Regions from separate parts of the Homo sapiens genome. Here all the other regions are linked to region 4. The links are contacts of gene promoters, found by promoter capture Hi-C in blood cells and fetal thymus (Javierre and others, 2016). All regions are on one chromosome and are shown on one strand. The core of a region is centred on a gene start or on the middle of the fragment in contact, and the rest is flanking DNA. Distances in the headings are between cores, read along the strand shown.

Region 1 (2,701 bases), core at 177-2,676, 1.8 Mb before region 4:
TTTTTTTTTTTTTTTTTTCAGACAGTCTTGCTCTGTCGCCCAGGCTGGAGTGCAGTGGCACAATCTCGGCTCACTGCAAGCTCCGCCTCCCAGGTTCATGCGATTCTCCTGCCTCAGCCTCCCGAGTAGCTGGGACTACAGGTGCCCGTCACAACGCCCGGCTAATTTTTTGTATTTTTACTAGAGACGGGGTTTCACTGTGTTAGCCAGGATGGTCTCGATCTCCTGACTTCGTGATCTGCCCACCTCGGCCTCCCAAAGTGCTGGGATTACAGGCGTGAGCCACTGTGCCCAGCCCTAATCTTTTTTGAGGAACTGCTATAACCATTTTCCACAACAACTCTACCATTTTACACTTCACCAGCAGTATACAAGAGTTCCAGTTTCTCTACATCTTTACCAACAGTATTTATTTTTTATTTTTTAATAAAATAGGGCTGGGTGCAGTGGCTCATGCCTGTAATCCCAGCACTCTGGGAGGCCAACACAGTCGGATCGCTTGAGTCCAGAAGTTCAAGACCAGCCTGGGCAACATGGCAAAACCTCTCCTCTACAAAAGCTCAAAAAATTAGCTGGGTGGTGTGTTGGCACGCGCCTGTAGTCCCAGCTACTGGGGAGGGGGCAGGTTGCTGAGGCGGGAGGATCACTTGAAGCTGGGAGATGGAGGTTGCAGTGAGCCGAAATCACGCAACTACACTCCAGCCTGGGTGACAGAGCATGATCCTATCTCCAAAAAAAAAAAAAATTCTAATGAATGTCAGCCGTTACTTTTTACCTATTGTCTCTCATTTCTTCTTTTTAAATTCCATTTAAACTTGATGTTTTCTCTCTATTCTCTCTTGCCTATTCTTTTGAATATTCCATCTTTTTGCTTCTCTTTACTTTATTCTGGATTTTTTCTGCAGACTTAGTTTCCTGTTTAGTTCTCTTCATGTATTTACAGTGCACTTAGGAAAAAGAGCCCATGCATTGAGTATTTAATTTTCTCTTGTATTATTTGTTTAACCTATGTAACTTTAAAAGTTGTCATTTCTCTACCCAAAACTTTAATCATGTGTTTTTTCTTCTTAGACATAATAAGACTGGTTATTTAATTTAATTAATTTATTTATTGAGACAAGGTGTCTCTCTGTCACCCAGGCTGGAGTGCAGTGGCACGATCTCCACTCGCTGCAACTTCCGCCTCCCAGGCTCAAGTGATCCTCCCACCTCAGCCTCCCGAGCAGAGCAGCTGGGACCACAGGTGCATGCCACCACGCCCAGCTAAGTTTTGTATTTTTTCGTAGAGGTGGCATTTCGCCACGTTGCCCAGGCTAGTCTTGAACTCCTAAGCTAAGGCAATCCGCCTGCCTCTGCCTGCCTTGGCCTCCCAAAGTGCTGGGATTACAGGCGTGAGACACCACACTCGGCCTGACTTGTTATTTTAAAGTCCGTTTGCAATTATTCTCCTATCCAGGGACCCAGAGTCCAGGTTGGTCTTTGTTTCTGCTAGTTTTCACTTTGTCCTGTGTGACTGGTTATCTTTGGTTGTGTTTCAGATGTTCTCTTTGAAAAATTGTTACAGGAATAGGCCAGGCACAATGGCTCAACGTCAGTAATCCCAGCACTTTGGGAGCTGAGGCAGGCAGATTGCTTGAGGTCAGGAGTTCAAGAACAGTCTGTCCAACATGATAAAACCCCGTCTCTACTAAAAATACAAAAATTAGCTGGGCTGATAACACGTCCCAGCTACTTGGGAGGCTGAAGCACGAGAATCTCTTGAACCCGGGAGGCGGAGGTTGCAGTGAGCAGAGATCGTGCCATTGCACTCCAGCCTGGGCAACAGAGCGAGACTCTGTCTCAAAAAAACAAACAACAACAACAACAAAAGAAAATTTTTACAGGAATAATCCGAGGACTAGATTATTAGGATGATGTTTTCTTTATCCAGAAATGACTTGTGTTTTTATCTGCTCAGGGCTTTTGGGCACAAACAGTCTAACCTCACTTTAATCTGATGTCAGGGATTAGGATTTTTCTGGGCCACCCAGATGCTTGGAAACTGGGCTGCAGTCCCTGTGAAGGCTGTTTTATTTCCAACTCACTCTCCTCCTAAAGTCTAGCCATTTGGGTTTCCAGCACATGTGGTAGGGGGTTAACTAGGTCACCAACTTTGGAGGGCTTTGGAATCTAACCTTTGCCCTCCTAGATGACCCAAGAGGTTATTAAAAGTGATTCTCTGTGCCCTTTCCCAGTGTATAAATGGCCCCAGGGCAAAGTGAACCAGTTGTTGCAGGCTTATATCTGTAAATTTTGGTTGTCTCTGTTTCTTGACCTGGAAGTTCTTCTGTGCCTTCTTAGTTCTCTGATGCTGCAGGTGTCCTTTTATGTCCAGCATTTTTTAGTTGTGCTCGGCAGGAGTGTTGGTCCCAGTGACCTGGTCAGCCCTCTTCTCTCTTTTACAAAAGAGTCTTTTAAAGGTTTGTAGGATAAAGAAGATGTGTTGGACCTTGAGAACTCATCTATTCCAGTCTCATTCACATCAATACAGTAGGGTTTATTGATCACCTACCGTGTACCCAGCATTGTGCTACTTATTATGGGAATTCTGAGGAAATGCAAGATGATAGTATTCCTTACATTCAAGGAGTGTAGCTGGGGAAACAAGCACAAACGTAGATAATTAAGTAAAATGTCAGAGTCAAGGGTCACGCAGAGTTAA
Region 2 (2,700 bases), core at 196-2,695, 1.7 Mb after region 4:
CATCTCTCACTGTTTTTGTTCATGGCCTGCTGAAGCACACATTTTCACTATATCAAATGGACAGACTATAATGTACCTAACCAGTCCCTTATTATGGGCTATTTAGATGGTTTATAGGTTTTTTTTCTCATCAGTAACATTGTGATGAAGATCTGATATAAGCCCTGAAAGTGGAAGTATCATATCAAAGAAAATTTTTAAGTTCTTAATATATTTTGTCAAATTACTATTGAAATCTTACTTCCTAGTCCCTATAACTCAGTTCCCCCAAACCCCAGGACTCACATCCCAGACACCCCTTCATCCCAAGACCCACATCCCAGATCCTCATACCCCAGGCCCTGCTGCTGAAGTCCTTACTGGTCAGCCTTGTGCTGAAACAAACAAGGAGAGGACTGAGAGCAGGACTGGAAGGGTAATGGGAAACTGTCCAGAACACCTCAGATGCTCCTTCTGCCAGCAATGCTTTCCCCTGAGGCCCTTCTATGGTGTCCTTTTGGGATTTAGGTCTCTCTCAAATGGCACTGCAAAGCCTAATCCTGGCCCCTTCATCTAAAAGTGACTCTGACTCTAGCTATTCTTTATTGCATTACACTGGTTTTTTTTAATTGTTGTTGTTGTAGTTGTCATTGCTTGTTTTTTGGTTTTTGTTTTTTTTGTTGTTGTTGTTGTTAATTGTAGAGACAGGTTTTTGCCATGTTTCCCAGGCTGGTCTTGAACTCCTGGGCTCAAGCAATCTGCCTGCCTCAGCCTCCCAAAGTGCTGGGATTACAGGTGTGAGCCACCACACCCAAACTACACTGTTTTTCCCCCCTTTAATAGCACCTATTTCTACCTGATATTATCTTATTAATTACATGTTTAATTTCTGTCAGTAATTATCTTGTTTGGTGTGTTGACTGCAGTATCTGCAGCATCAGGAACAGTTTCTGGCACAGAGAAACTCTTCTCAAATTGACTGCTTATTGGAATCACCTGTGAAGCTTTGAAAATCCCATTACCTACCCCCGACCAAAAGAAAGAATTGTTTAGTTATTAAATCACTTTACAAAAAAATGTAAATATTATTTTCTCCAGGAGATAGAGAATGTAGCAGATATTCTCAAACATGTTTATTTACTACTGTGTAGTTGGCCCCTTGTTGAATCCTTTTTAATGTAGCTAATAGAGTGTGGTTGTACAAACTATGAAAGTTATTGAAATTCTTTGATAAAACTATCATTTTTGGGGGAAAACGTATTGGAAGAACTCATCCAAGTGTGTGTGTGTACACGCTGTGTTTTTCTAACCTTCAGTCCAGAAGTAGAAGGGGTTTAAATCTGCTTGCACTGCCTGTGCCTCCATTATGTTACTGTAGAAATGTGACATGCTAAATATAGGATGGTGCATTATAAAATTGTACCGCTTGAGAATAGACCAGCATGCCATTAAGAATTTTTAGGAAGAACTCATTTAACCTAAGAGCTCTTTGTTTATGGATTTTGAATTTTATATGCCACTGTGATCTATAAAGAAACAAATCCATAATGAAGTCACTATTCACTACTGTGTTGTATATAAAACAATATGTTCCAAGGCAAAAAATTCAATATTCATGCCTCTCCCTAGCCCAATTAAATCAGGATTGCTAAGGGTGGAATCCAGGTGATTCCAATGTGCAGCCAAGTTTGAGAGCTACTGACATAGAAGAAACTCAGCAATATTTGTTGGATGGATGGATGGATGGATGGATGGTTGGATGGGTGAGCAAAAGAACATGGGGAATGAGAAATTTGGGGCTCTGGTTCTAGCACTCCCTCTAATGTGCTGTGTGACCTCGCTGTGTCACTCTACTTTACTGAACACCCATTGTTGCACTACATGTAGAAGGAATGAGAGAAGCCTGAAGACAGAATAATTAAAGCTTTATAGAAAACTTCCGGCTGGGAGCGGTGGCTCACGCCTGGAATCCTAGCACTTTGGAAGGCCGAGGTGGGCGGATCACGAGGTCAGGAGATCGAGACCATCCTGGCTAACACAGTGAAACCCCGCCTCTAGTAGAAATACAAAAAATTAGCCGGGCGTGGTGGCGGGCGCCTGTAGTCCCAGCTACTCGGGAGGCTGAGGCAGGAGAATGGCGTGAACCCGGGAGGCGGAGCTTGCAGTGAGCCGAGATCGCACCACTGCACTCCAGCCTGGGTGACAGAGCGAGACTCCGTCTCAAAAAAAAAAAAAAAGAAAAAAAAGAAAGAAAACTTCCTCCAGAACAAAGCTAAGCCTAACAGGAAGCTCTTTACTATGTGTATTAGGCCATTCTCCCATTGCTATAAAGAAATACCTGAGACTGGGTAATTTATAAAGAAGAGGTTTAATTAACTCACAGTTCTACAGGCTTTACAGAAAGCATGGCGCCGGCATCTGCTTGGCTTCTGGGGAGGCTTTAGGAAGATTACAATCATGGTGGAAGGTGAAAGGAGAGCAGGCATGTCACATGGTGAAAGCAAGAGCTAGAGAGGATAAGTGCCACACTTTTAAACAGCCAGATCTCGTGATGAGTGACTCAGTGTCAGGAAGACAGCACCAAGAGGATGTTGCTAAACCATTCACAAAAAATCCACCCCAACGAGCCAATCACCTCCCACCAGGCCCCACCTCCAACACTGGCTATTACATTTTGACATGAGATCTGGGTGGGACAAATATCCAAACTATATCACTATG
Region 3 (2,700 bases), core at 186-2,685, 1.7 Mb after region 4:
ACAGGTTTTAAATGTCACATCTCAGTGCCTAAAAAAGTTACTCCATCGTTTCGAGATAAGTTTCTGAGAACAAAGAAAACTCTTTAAACTACTGAACTGCATTTTATTCTTTCCTTTTCCGTGTGACCATCTGCAAAAGCAACAGTTGTCAGTTAAACAGAATCAACCTCTTTCCCGAGTGGACATGATTCACAGCTTGGTCACTGTACAGCAGATGTGAACTGAGAACTACGACATAACACAATGACAAAACACAGTACTGAGCACAAAGTACAGGGAAAGAATGAAAGACAGAAAACAGGAAGAGCACACGTCTGATTTTTGTTTTCTTTGGGGCCCCCATTAGTAGCATTCCCTTCATCCATCTTCATTCAGTGGTTCACTATCAGGGCCAAACCCAAAAGTTACAAAACACCATCTAGCTACTGTCTGGCTGCTTTTATTTTTTCTGCACCAGGACGGGAGCACGCATTCCCCTGCAGTCCTCAGCTCCACCGCAATACTGATACCAAACAGTTTCAGTGGCCCAGCTGCCAAGCCTAACCATTCCTTTTTAAAGCATTTCTTCATCAATCCTACAAAACAGCAAGTTCTTCATGGTATATTTTCCTAGAGCATCTAGCTAATATCATACTTTAACAACTTTTTCCAACGTTAACTGGACATGGGTCATTATCACTTAAGTGTTAGCGCCATTGCCCGCGCCCACTCCCATAATCCACACTGCTTTCCTTCTCCATATTGCCAATCCCCACTAAGCAACCCTAAAATCTAGTAATTATCATCAAATCCACTTCTAGGCCCTGGCAAGAATTATTTGGCTTTACCGAAACACCTATTCCATAGGTAACCAATTCCAGTCAAAAATGCCAGAGTATTACTCCTCAACCCAATGCCCTATCTCCTTAGTGGATTATAAACTTACTACGACAACCTGTCTTCTTTGGATCCAATCCCCGCCCAAGTCTGAGTCTTCTCTCCCAGGCTACAAGCCCCCAAGTCCTGGCAGCTCTATGCTTGACAGCTCGCTGACCTCCACCTCATCAGACCATTGGGTCGCCCTTCTCGCCGTCCTCCAGCCTTCTTCCCGCTCAGACACTCATCCACTGTCCGGGGAGCCTCGACCCCTCCTATACCCCCTCCCCGATCCCGCAGTCCCCTTCTGGACCTTGCGGACCCCTCTCAGGTAAGCGGAGCCCCTTGCCCTGCAGGCCCATCAGTGGTCCTGGCTCCCCGCACCTGCCACCAGGGTTCCCAGGCTGCAAAAACACAAGTAGTTCTTCTTCCCAAGGGCCACCCTCCTCCTCAGGCCGCTTTCCTCAGCACCACGTCACCCGCGCTTCGCCGGGAGACCCCCAACTCACCCCCGCCTCCGCCATCTTCTGGGACCAGCCCCCGTACCCCCTACCGCCTCTTCCTCCTCCACTCCCACAACTCCGCCCGAGCTCCACTGCGCCTGTGCGGCCAACGAGGCCGCGCGCAGGCGATCGGGGCAGAAGAGCTTCCGGTTCCTGCTGTCAATAAGACGTGGACCTGCGAGCCGGGGCAAAAGGGCTTCCGGTCTGCGGGAAACTGGAGGCTAGCGGTGGGCGTGGACCGTCGAGGTGACTGGCGGTTGTCGGATCTGCTGTTGTTTGCTGACCAGGCAGCCGTAGGTAATGACGGATGCCCAGACCCTGTGGGCGGAGTAAAGGAATCATGCACTGATACACGCACACTCACCGAGGGGCGCGTCCGTCTGCGTGCCCCTCATCTCGTAGCCGAAAGGAGCGCGTTCCGGGGCAGGCCTCCGGGTACTTCCCGCAGAGGACCGGGCTTTATACTCTTTGCTCCTTTTCCTCCCCTAGTAAGTCATAACTTATTTTGGGAGAAGGGCATAGTTATTTGTCTCTCGTCTCCATGCTACAGCACTTTATGTGCTTTTCATTCAAAATCGTTCCTCGAGGACGACCAAGTAATGTGATTTGGGGGACAGTTTTCATAGGAAGGGCTTTATAAGTTTACACCAACATAAAGAAAACTTAAAAACCTTATAACCGCTTATTTTTCAGAAGTATTATTTTTCATTTAATCTAAAACCATACTTTTAGAACATGAAACCAAGCCAAACAGATCTTTGCAGATTGTGCAAGCGAACTTTTTTTTTTGAATGAAAGTGGTGCCATCAATGCAAAAGCAAGCCCATATAAGTGCCGAAAGGTACTCGTCATAAGGAGGAGTTGCTTCCCTATTCTGAATTTTTATTTATTTTTATTTATTTATTTATTTGAGACGGAGTCTCTCTCTGTCACCCAGGCTGGAGTGCACTGGCATGATCTCGGCTCACTGCAACCTCTGCCTCCCGGGTTCAAGTGATTCTTCTGCCTCAGCCTCCCCAGTAGCTGGGACTACAGGTACATGCCACCATGTCTGCCTACTTTTTGTATTTTTAGTAGAGATGGAGTTTCATCATATTGGCCAGGCTGGTCTCAAACTCCTGACCTCGTGATTCGCCCGCCTCATCCTCCCAAAGTGCTGGGATTACAGGCGTGAGCTGCCCCCTGAATTTGTTTTTTTTAAGCAACTCTTTTTAAAAAGAGAGAAAAAATAATCTCTCTTGAGTGTATTAGTTATTGAGCTATTCCATTTGGAGGTGGCTTAACCCAAAACGTGTATGGATGTGGTAAGATTACAATGGACTTGAATGTTCTAGATGAAATC
Region 4 (2,700 bases), core at 11-2,510:
TTCAACTGGGCCCAAGATCTGGACACAGAAACTTAGTATTACTGAAACCTCTTATTCGAAAAGCAGCTGGCATATTGCAGATGCATAACAAGTTATCCTAGAACAGGCGTTTTGAAAAATCCTACAAATCGTCCTTGTACATACTGATGTCACTACATGATGCAAGCCCAGACATAAAATCTTCCACCCTAAGTTTTGCAGAAACATCCACACATCACCTGTGCAACTGTAAGCTGTTCCATTTTATGGAAACCCTGCGAAATGCATCACTGTTTACCCACATCTCAACTTTTTTTTTTTTTTTTTTTTTGGCTCAACTACAGATTCCCAAATACAGGTATATACTGGTAGAATCATAACAGGCTTAAAACTTCAATGGTAGGAATAGTTGGCTCATGCAGCGTGCAAGAAGCGCTCATATGAGCCAAAAAAAAAAAAAAAAAAAAAAGGAATTCTACCAGCAATGGAAAACTCAAGATTCCAAAGCTTTACCTAGAGTTTAGGTACTGGGAACATTCCATCTCCGCACCTATTCCATCCCTTGGCCCTTCGCTGACCCATAACAGAGATTCCAACTATAACCCCCGCAAAAGCAGAGGTCCCAGGAAGAAAGGAAAGAAAGCGTTTTTTTGTTTGTTTGTTTGTTTGTTTTTGTCCTTTTTTCCTTCCTTTCAAATCATCCTCGTACCTCCGGCTTGCCCCACCTGGCTCACCTCCCAGGAGCCACACATGCAGGTAAGAGCCTCCCGTTCAACGTGCAGGGCCGAGAGGCCGGCGGGGACCGGAGAACCTCTTACCTTCGTATATCACAGCCGCGTCCTCTCGGCTGGAGAAAAAAAGCCTCGAGGCCCCGGCGCGCAGAGGAGAAGCGCGTCCTCCGTGCCGCTCCGGGGGGCTACCTCAGCGCCCCCCGAGCAGCCGCCGCCGCAGCGGTCGCGCCACGACCCGGAGCCGCCAGCACCACCTCATGCTGCTGGGCAGCCGCGGGCCGGCGCCGCTGGGGAGGTGGCAGGGAGGCGGGCAGCCGGCGACCTCTCCTACCTCCCTGCAGGGATGAGATAATCCACACCCCCAAAAGTGCGTGGGGGAGGGGGCCTGGCCCCAATCCTCCGACCCCGCGGCCAAAGCCAAGTCTCTTTCCTCTCCCGCTCAGGCCCAATTCCGGCCCCTGGGACCCAGGAGTCCTGAGAGAACAATGTTGGTGGTGGGGCGCGAGGAGCGGAAAAGCGCACTGCGCGGCGTGAGCTGGCGGGTAATCCTGGGCAGCGTTTGTGTGTGAGAGTGCAAGAGGAGCTCAGTCACCCCCCTCCTTCTCCACCTCCTCTTCCTCCCCCTCCTCCTCCTCTATCTCTTCCTCCTCCCTCAAGCACACCCCCTCTCCTAGGCCGCAGCATAGCAACCGAACATGGCGGCTGCGCAGGCGCCGCCAGTCAGTGGCCAGGAGCGGCGGCGGCAGCAACAGGAGGCGATCTCGCGAGAGGCGAGGCCAAAACCCTGCCTCGCTAGCGCAGGGAGAAGTCGCACCAGTCGGAGCGCAGAGGGACACGCAGGTGCGAGAGAGAGCGGCCTAGGAGGATTGGGAGGGCGGATTGGAGGGGGGAGGCGGAGCGCTGTGGCCCCCGCCCCGCAGCCGCGTCGCGATTGGTTGTTTGGACTGCGACCCCTGCTGCACCCACTGACCGCAGGGACCGGATAGTGGGCAAGAAGCGTGTGTTAAAAGGGAAAACCAGACCAGTTGGCAGCAGGTCGCCCCAACCTCAGTGCTCCTGGAGGATATAGGTTTTGGGGGGCAGTTTTGAATCATTTCCTCTCCTAAACGTAGGCTCCAAAACAAAGCCTCAGCAACCAACCTGCGTTTATAAAACAAACGTTCGGGGGCTCCTTCTGTGTGCCTGGAACGGTGTGCTTTTTAAAATTTAATTCCTTCTAATAACATGAATTTGGTGTTATCACGCCAGGGTTTTTAGCCAGGTGCATTATAATATTTTATTGGTGATACAAACTTATTGGTAATACCACAGTTGCCTACTGGCGAATGATCTCAGCTGAAATGGAGGAAGAAGGGATTTGGGGACCGCCACACTTCCTTTTTGCCCAATTTTTGTTAGTGCCCTTTTCTGTCGCCAGGCGCCTTCTTTGTCCTTCCTTGCTCTTAGCTTGAGCATCCTATCAGAGCCTACCTTTATAAAGACGATCTTTCAAAAACCACTTTCCCAAGCCGACAAAATGACTACAAATCAGGGGAATGTGAACAAATCTGGAAAAGACAGAAATTTCTATTGACTCTCTTCTCCCTCACACCTGTTAGTTTTTCCATTTGAAAAAGGCAACTTGTCAATCCATGTTTCCAGCTTTACTTCCTTCACTTGCTTTTCTTCCCAGATCTCTGTTGTAGCCAGTGCTCATTCATTCCTCCCTAAATATGCATTCCTGCCTCTGACTCTCCATTTTGTCTTTGATCATGCCATTCCCTCTGCTAAAATGCTCTTCACCTCATTGTCATCTGTCAACATCCAGTCATCCTCCAACCAAAGATCATATGAGACTTCCACCAGAAATTGAATGTTTCATATAAATAGAATCATACAATATGTAATTTTTGTTTAGAGGCAAGGTCTCGCTATGTTGTCAGGCTGGTCTCCAACTCCTGGGCTCAAGAGATCATCTTACCTTAACCTTCGGAGTAGCTGGGATTACACA
Region 5 (2,708 bases), core at 12-2,511, 1.9 Mb after region 4:
GGCCAAGACGGGCAAATCAATGTAGTTCAGCAACTCATAGTGGTATTTCACAGACATACAAGATGAAAAGAAGACCATAAGCTTCTTCTTTCGGTTCTTCTTAAGGAATGTAAAGAGCAGAAGGAATCTCTTTTCAGAAGGACAAACAACATATCCCTAGAAAGCGTTTAAGCAGACAGATACAAATGAACCAAGTGGACATTTTCCATTTCCTAACTTGTGTAATTTCATCAAGAGCACTGATAAACACAGTGTGTAAACTGTCATGCCTCACCTACAGCATTTTAAAAGTTCATTAACCCATTTGCTTTCTGAATGATCCTTCCAACAATTACATAAAAACACCAAGTAAGATCCCTACAGTTTTCAGTTATTGATAAAAAGTACCTGTTCAAGACCATCCACTGTTGCATTCGCTTTATCATCATCAACGCCAACATACAATGGCTCCTTTTTCAGAGAAATCCTTGCCAGGTCTTCAACTTTTCGAGTTTGGGTGGCAGAAAAGAGCATAGTCTGTCTACGTGCTGAAACAGATACATATAAAAATAACCCCAATCTTTTAGGGAATCTTTACAATTGCCTCACAACTACAAATATTCTAGGTAGAGATATCAGAAATGGGAGATATGATGTTTCTACAGAATCTACAAATATTACAAAAGGTAAAAAGGGTATATCATGAAACACTAGGTCTATAAATTTGAGGACTTAGATGAAATGGACAAACTCCTTTGAAGACAAACAACTGAAGAAAATAGGAAAACTTTAAATAGCCTTATATCTACTAAAGAAATTTTAGTTATAACCTTCATGTAAAGAAAATTCCAGGCCCAAATGGATTCCATTGGTGAATTCTACTGAACATTTAAGAAAAAAACATCAATTATTCACAAACTCTCCAATAAATTAAAAAGAGGGCTTACATGTCAACTCATTCTTCGAAGTCAGTCATTACACTATACAAAAACCTGACATGACATGACAAGAAAACTATGGACCAATACAATTCGTGAGCACATATACAAAATTTGAAATAGAATTTTAGTAAAGTGAATTCAGCAATATATAAAAAGGATAATGGCTCATGTTTATTCTAGAAATGGATCAGGTTTATTCTAGAAATGCAGGTTGGTTCAACATTTGAAAAATCAACCAATACAATTCACTATGTTAACTAAAGAAAAAACATGATTATTTCAGCAGACAGAAAAAAAACATTTGACCATCTATTTCTGATTAAAAATCCTCAGCAAACTAGGAACAGAAGGGATCTTCCTCAATCTGATAAAAGGCATCTATATAAAACCTGCAGCTAACTTCATATGTAGTTAATGGTAAAAGACTGAATGCTTTCCCCTAAGATCAGAACCAAGATAAGGATGTCTGCTCTCACCACTTCTATTCAGCACCATACTGGAGGTTCTGGCCAGGGCAATCAGGCAGGAAAAAAAAATTAAATAAAGAGGTGAAACTGTCTTTATCTGCACATGATTGCCTATATAGAAAATCCAAAAGGCTACAGTCATCTGGAAAGTCATACTGAATAATCATTCGGTACAGGATTAACTGTCTTGCTAGATACAAGATCAATATAAAATTCAACTGTGTGTGCATATATATGTGTGTATATGTGTGTGTGTATATATGTATATATTAAAGCAACGAGCAATTGGAACTTGAAATTTTAATGAAACACTCAGAGATAAATCTGACAAAAGATGTGAATAAACCTGTATCCCGAACCCCCCTAAATATGATAGAGAAAATATCGAATACATGGAGATATACCTTATTATGGGTTACATGACTCAATACTGTCTTCCTCCAATAATCTCTATTCAATAAAATCTCAGTCAAGATCTGAGACTTTTTTGGAGGGAAGGGGGAGAAACTGACAAACCAATTCTAAAATTTATATAGAAAAGCAAAGGACAAGAATACCACAACTTTAAAAGAGAACAAACTTGGGGCTAACATTACCTGATGGTCAAGACTTAATAGGAGGAACTGGAACTTTCATACACTGCTCATAGGAATGTTAAATGGTACAGCCGCTTTGGAAAACATCTGGCAGTTTTTTAAAAAGTTAAACATACACTAAACATATACCAACTAGGACACTCCTAGGTTTACTTAAGAGAAAAGGAGATATATGCCTCTACAAAGAGTTGTAGATGACTGTTCACAGCAACTTTATTTCCAGAAAATGCAACCTAATCTAGCAGCAGAAAACAGATCAATACTCACCTGGGGACAAGGTATACGTGTAAGGAGGGGTGGGAGGGAGAAATTGAAAAGGGGCAGGAGGAAACCTTTGACTGTGATGGACATGTTCATTTTCTTGATTGCAGCGATGATGTCACAGTGGTAAACAAATCAAAGAACATCAAATTGTACATTATAAATGGGTAGATATAATTATACTTTGACAAAGCTTTTAAAAATAAATTATATAATGAAGGAAACCATGGTCTTAGTTATAACCAGTTCATAATGTTGCAAGTACTATAACCAAGGTATGTACAAGTAAGGCAAAAAATCTGCGGCTTCTTGGGGGATGTTAGATGAGGTAAGAATGGGCAAGAGGTGGAGGACAGGACCTATGTGAAGACTGCTTAACGTGCCTTATAACTTCTAAAACAGCAAAACTATTATATCAAGTTATAATACATTTGATGCTTGTATTCCAAATTACCTTTCGGGTT
Region 6 (2,700 bases), core at 178-2,677, 1.8 Mb after region 4:
TGTGTGGCAATGTAACCTATTCATGTAGGCTGAGCCAGAAGCTCCTATTTCTCCAGATGTCCACAAGGCCATGCCTGGTGACTGCTTCTCAATGTTCCCAGGCTACATACCATGGCTTTGGGGTCAGGCACACCACTGAATAGTATCTTTTCTCTCCCCTTGAGTCTGATCCAATTAAGATAGTATAAGAAACAGGAATCACATAGCTAGAGATGAAATGCCAACTGATTCGAGAAGGAGGTTTCAGGCTGCAATAAAACAGACTTGCATACAAATCCCTCCACCAGTGCTGCCATAAACTGTCCTACCCCAGCTCAGGCTGAGCTGAGAAACCTCCCTAGCAGGAGAGGATGCTTTCCTCCTGACCTACAGAGAAGAAAACTCTGAGGCCTCAGGAAGCCTGGTTCCTCCCTTCTCAGTCCCACCTTGTGGTCTTCTATAGGAGGAAGACTGAGGCGAGGTGTTAGAGAAAGGTCGGTGTCCCTTATAAGAAGCAGAAAATATCTCTTCTGTATGGAAATGAGAGTGAGGATATACAGTTCCTTCAACTCTAGAATTTATTTTAGAGTATCAAAAAATTAAAGGCTACTATTTATTTTAAAAATATCCTTGTACCAGAGAGTAGAGAACTCCAAATCTCTTTTGGAAATGGGGCTCCATGTTTCATGTTAATATTCTGGGTACCTGGTGTAAGGTCTGGTAATTATTTGTTGCCTGATATTTAGAATACTTTTTTCAAACTGTTAGAAAGAGTAGATCAGTAAAACGAAATGTAAAAAGAATACGGGGCACTAATAACTTTTTATCTTACTACATAAGGAAGTTAAAAAATAGTAACGACTACCTCTAATGTTACCATCATTTCACAAAATATTTTACATCCAAAAAAGTAGGAAGAAAAACATTATAGAATAAAGGATGAAGGCAGTTTTGTGACCACACACCTACACACCACCAAATTGTGCTTATTTTTCTCATTTTGCAGTCATCTAGGAGAAACTTGTCATGGTCTGGACTAGCCTGGCATGGAGAAGTCCCAGATCCGTCTGTGATGCTGCCCAGACTTTAGAGATGCCATAAAGGCTACTTAGTATGCCTCACTCTTTGCTTGTTACTTTTTCTGAACAGAGCTCTGTCAGAAAAAATTGTCTCGGTCCTGCCAAGGATGAAATGCCCACACCAGCTGGAGCCCCACCAGATCCAGGGGATGGATTTTATTCACATATTTCCTGTTGTTCAGGTGAGAGCCTCTGTGTGGTTTCTTGTCCTCTTAACATCAGAATTCCTGTGATGGGCCTGGCTTGTCCTGTAATGGGTCCGTCTGTCCTGGATCCTGAATGTAATGGGTGTGGCTTAGATTTGGTACAGCAGAACATGGTGGTGTTCGTTGTCGTCATCTTCAGAAGATTGCCAGTCCTGCATATACTCTAGTTTCATGCTGTCACCTGATAAGATCTTTGAATGTTCTCATCTGACTTTTCATTGCCTTTTTGGTAAAAACAGAACTCTGTAGCCTGGTATGCTCTGTTCCCTTTTGACCTATCCAGCTTGATTTCATTCCTTGCTTTTCTTTGTTCTTTTTGTTCTAGCACTCTCTGGCATTCATTCAGATTTCCCCAGGTTTATTCTTCCACCTGTCACAGTGCTTTTGCGTTGCTAGTTCCTTGGGCTGGAATGCTCTTCCATTCTCTCCTTACCTGTTTAATTCATATGGCTTACTTCAACCCTTCAGATCTCAGTTCCACCAAACCTCTTCAAGAAAGCCTTCCCTCATCCGCTAATCCACAGCATGTTCCTTTATGGTATGCACTCCTACGGCCACATTCCTTTCCTTCACCAGAATCTTACAGCAGTTCATAATCATGTGTATCCATGTGTGTGTGATTGTTTATCTGCTTCTCTCATTAGACTCTTAAGCTGCATGAGAGCAAGTCTGCATGGCTGTCTTGCTTATTGCTTTGTTTCCAGTACCTACCAGAACATCTTACAATTTGTAGATATTCAGTCCGTATGGCTAAATGCCTAAGGGAGAGACTTCTCTTTGCCTCCAGCTGTTTCCCAAACCCCTATGATTAAGTGGCTCGTGCTGTACAGCTCCCAAACAGCCGGCCCTCCATATTCGCAGCTCCACATCCATAAATTCAACAAACAATGCATCAAAAATGTTTGGGGGTGGGTGGGGGGAAACACAATAAAAAATAACAATACAACAATAAAAAGTAATATAAATTTAGCAAGCTGGAAAAAGAAAGTAATAAAAATTTAAAAATACAGTATAACATAACTATTTACATAGCATTTACGTTGTATTAGGTATTATAACCTTAGAGATGATTTAAAATATAGGGGAGGATGTGTTTAGGTTGTATGCAAATACTGTGCCATTTTATATCAGGGACTTGAGCATCTGTGGATTAATATCTAGCGGGTCCTGGAACCCATCCACCACAGATTCCTTGGGACAACTGCATTCTGTGCAGTTCTTCTCTTCCCCTCTAGGCATCTTAGAAAGAGGAGGAGCAAAGGGACTCAGGTGTGTTGCCCGCTGTGTGAACACTACTTCCCATCTGACTCTATTAGAGTTCTTTGAAGCGTTTATTATAATCCCTTACATTTGAGGAAAGTGAGAAATGTAATTTCCTTACATTTGGGAAAAATGAGACTGAGAGAAGGTAATTGATTTGCTTAAGGGCGGAGAGT

What was found. Contacts are between HindIII fragments. The CHiCAGO score rates a contact against its expected background, and 5 or more counts as called.
Region 1: a fragment that was not itself captured here is called in contact with the fragment with the promoter of PTPN4 in region 4 in 1 of 17 cell types (activated CD4 T cells); the score reaches 6.6 in activated CD4 T cells.
Region 2: a fragment that was not itself captured here is called in contact with the fragment with the promoter of PTPN4 in region 4 in 1 of 17 cell types (activated CD4 T cells); the score reaches 5.1 in activated CD4 T cells.
Region 3: the fragment with the promoter of INSIG2 here is called in contact with the fragment with the promoter of PTPN4 in region 4 in 4 of 17 cell types (activated CD4 T cells, total B cells, naive CD4 T cells and 1 more); the score reaches 7.7 in activated CD4 T cells.
Region 5: a fragment that was not itself captured here is called in contact with the fragment with the promoter of PTPN4 in region 4 in 1 of 17 cell types (non-activated CD4 T cells); the score reaches 6.7 in non-activated CD4 T cells.
Region 6: a contact is called between a fragment that was not itself captured here and the fragment with the promoter of PTPN4 in region 4, in 1 of 17 cell types (total CD8 T cells). The highest score is 6.5, in total CD8 T cells.

The regions. Positions count from the first base shown.
Region 1 is chr2:121,533,696-121,536,396 of GRCh38, reverse strand. All of the region lies in intron 2 of CLASP1 (cytoplasmic linker associated protein 1), which reads left to right. Among named protein-coding and RNA genes, the nearest start is that of RNU4ATAC, 4.2 kb to the right of the region's middle. The HindIII fragment of the contact is 4,052 bases long and covers 1-2,701 here.
Region 2 is chr2:118,016,970-118,019,669 of GRCh38, reverse strand. No RefSeq gene overlaps it. Among named protein-coding and RNA genes, the nearest start is that of CCDC93, 4.2 kb to the right of the region's middle. The HindIII fragment of the contact is 920 bases long and covers 986-1,905 here.
Region 3 is chr2:118,087,206-118,089,905 of GRCh38, reverse strand. INSIG2 (insulin induced gene 2) reads right to left here and starts at 1,435. Exons shown (of 6, transcript NM_016133.4): 1 at 1,365-1,435. LOC107985940 (a long non-coding RNA gene) reads left to right here and starts at 1,475. Exons shown (of 3, transcript XR_001739662.3): 1 at 1,475-1,655. RefSeq lists enhancers at 1,481-1,670, 1,681-1,730. The HindIII fragment of the contact is 7,859 bases long and covers 1-2,700 here.
Region 4 is chr2:119,758,482-119,761,181 of GRCh38, reverse strand. PTPN4 (protein tyrosine phosphatase non-receptor type 4) reads right to left here and starts at 1,260. Exons shown (of 27, transcript NM_002830.4): 1 at 798-1,260. LOC101927764 (a long non-coding RNA gene) reads left to right here and starts at 1,468. Exons shown (of 4, transcript XR_007087215.1): 1 at 1,468-1,550. RefSeq lists enhancers at 404-1,028, 1,299-1,558, 1,275-1,569 and silencers at 759-1,058, 1,609-1,718. The HindIII fragment of the contact is 4,728 bases long and covers 489-2,700 here.
Region 5 is chr2:117,822,388-117,825,095 of GRCh38, reverse strand. It overlaps DDX18 (DEAD-box helicase 18), which reads right to left. Exons shown (of 14, transcript NM_006773.4): 8 at 388-527; 9 at 1-156. Among named protein-coding and RNA genes, the nearest start is that of DDX18, 9.1 kb to the right of the region's middle. The HindIII fragment of the contact is 2,356 bases long and covers 84-2,439 here.
Region 6 is chr2:117,999,361-118,002,060 of GRCh38, reverse strand. It overlaps CCDC93 (CCC complex scaffolding subunit CCDC93), which reads left to right. Exons shown (of 24, transcript NM_019044.5): 4 at 1,129-1,240. Among named protein-coding and RNA genes, the nearest start is that of CCDC93, 13 kb to the left of the region's middle. The HindIII fragment of the contact is 5,303 bases long and covers 1-2,700 here.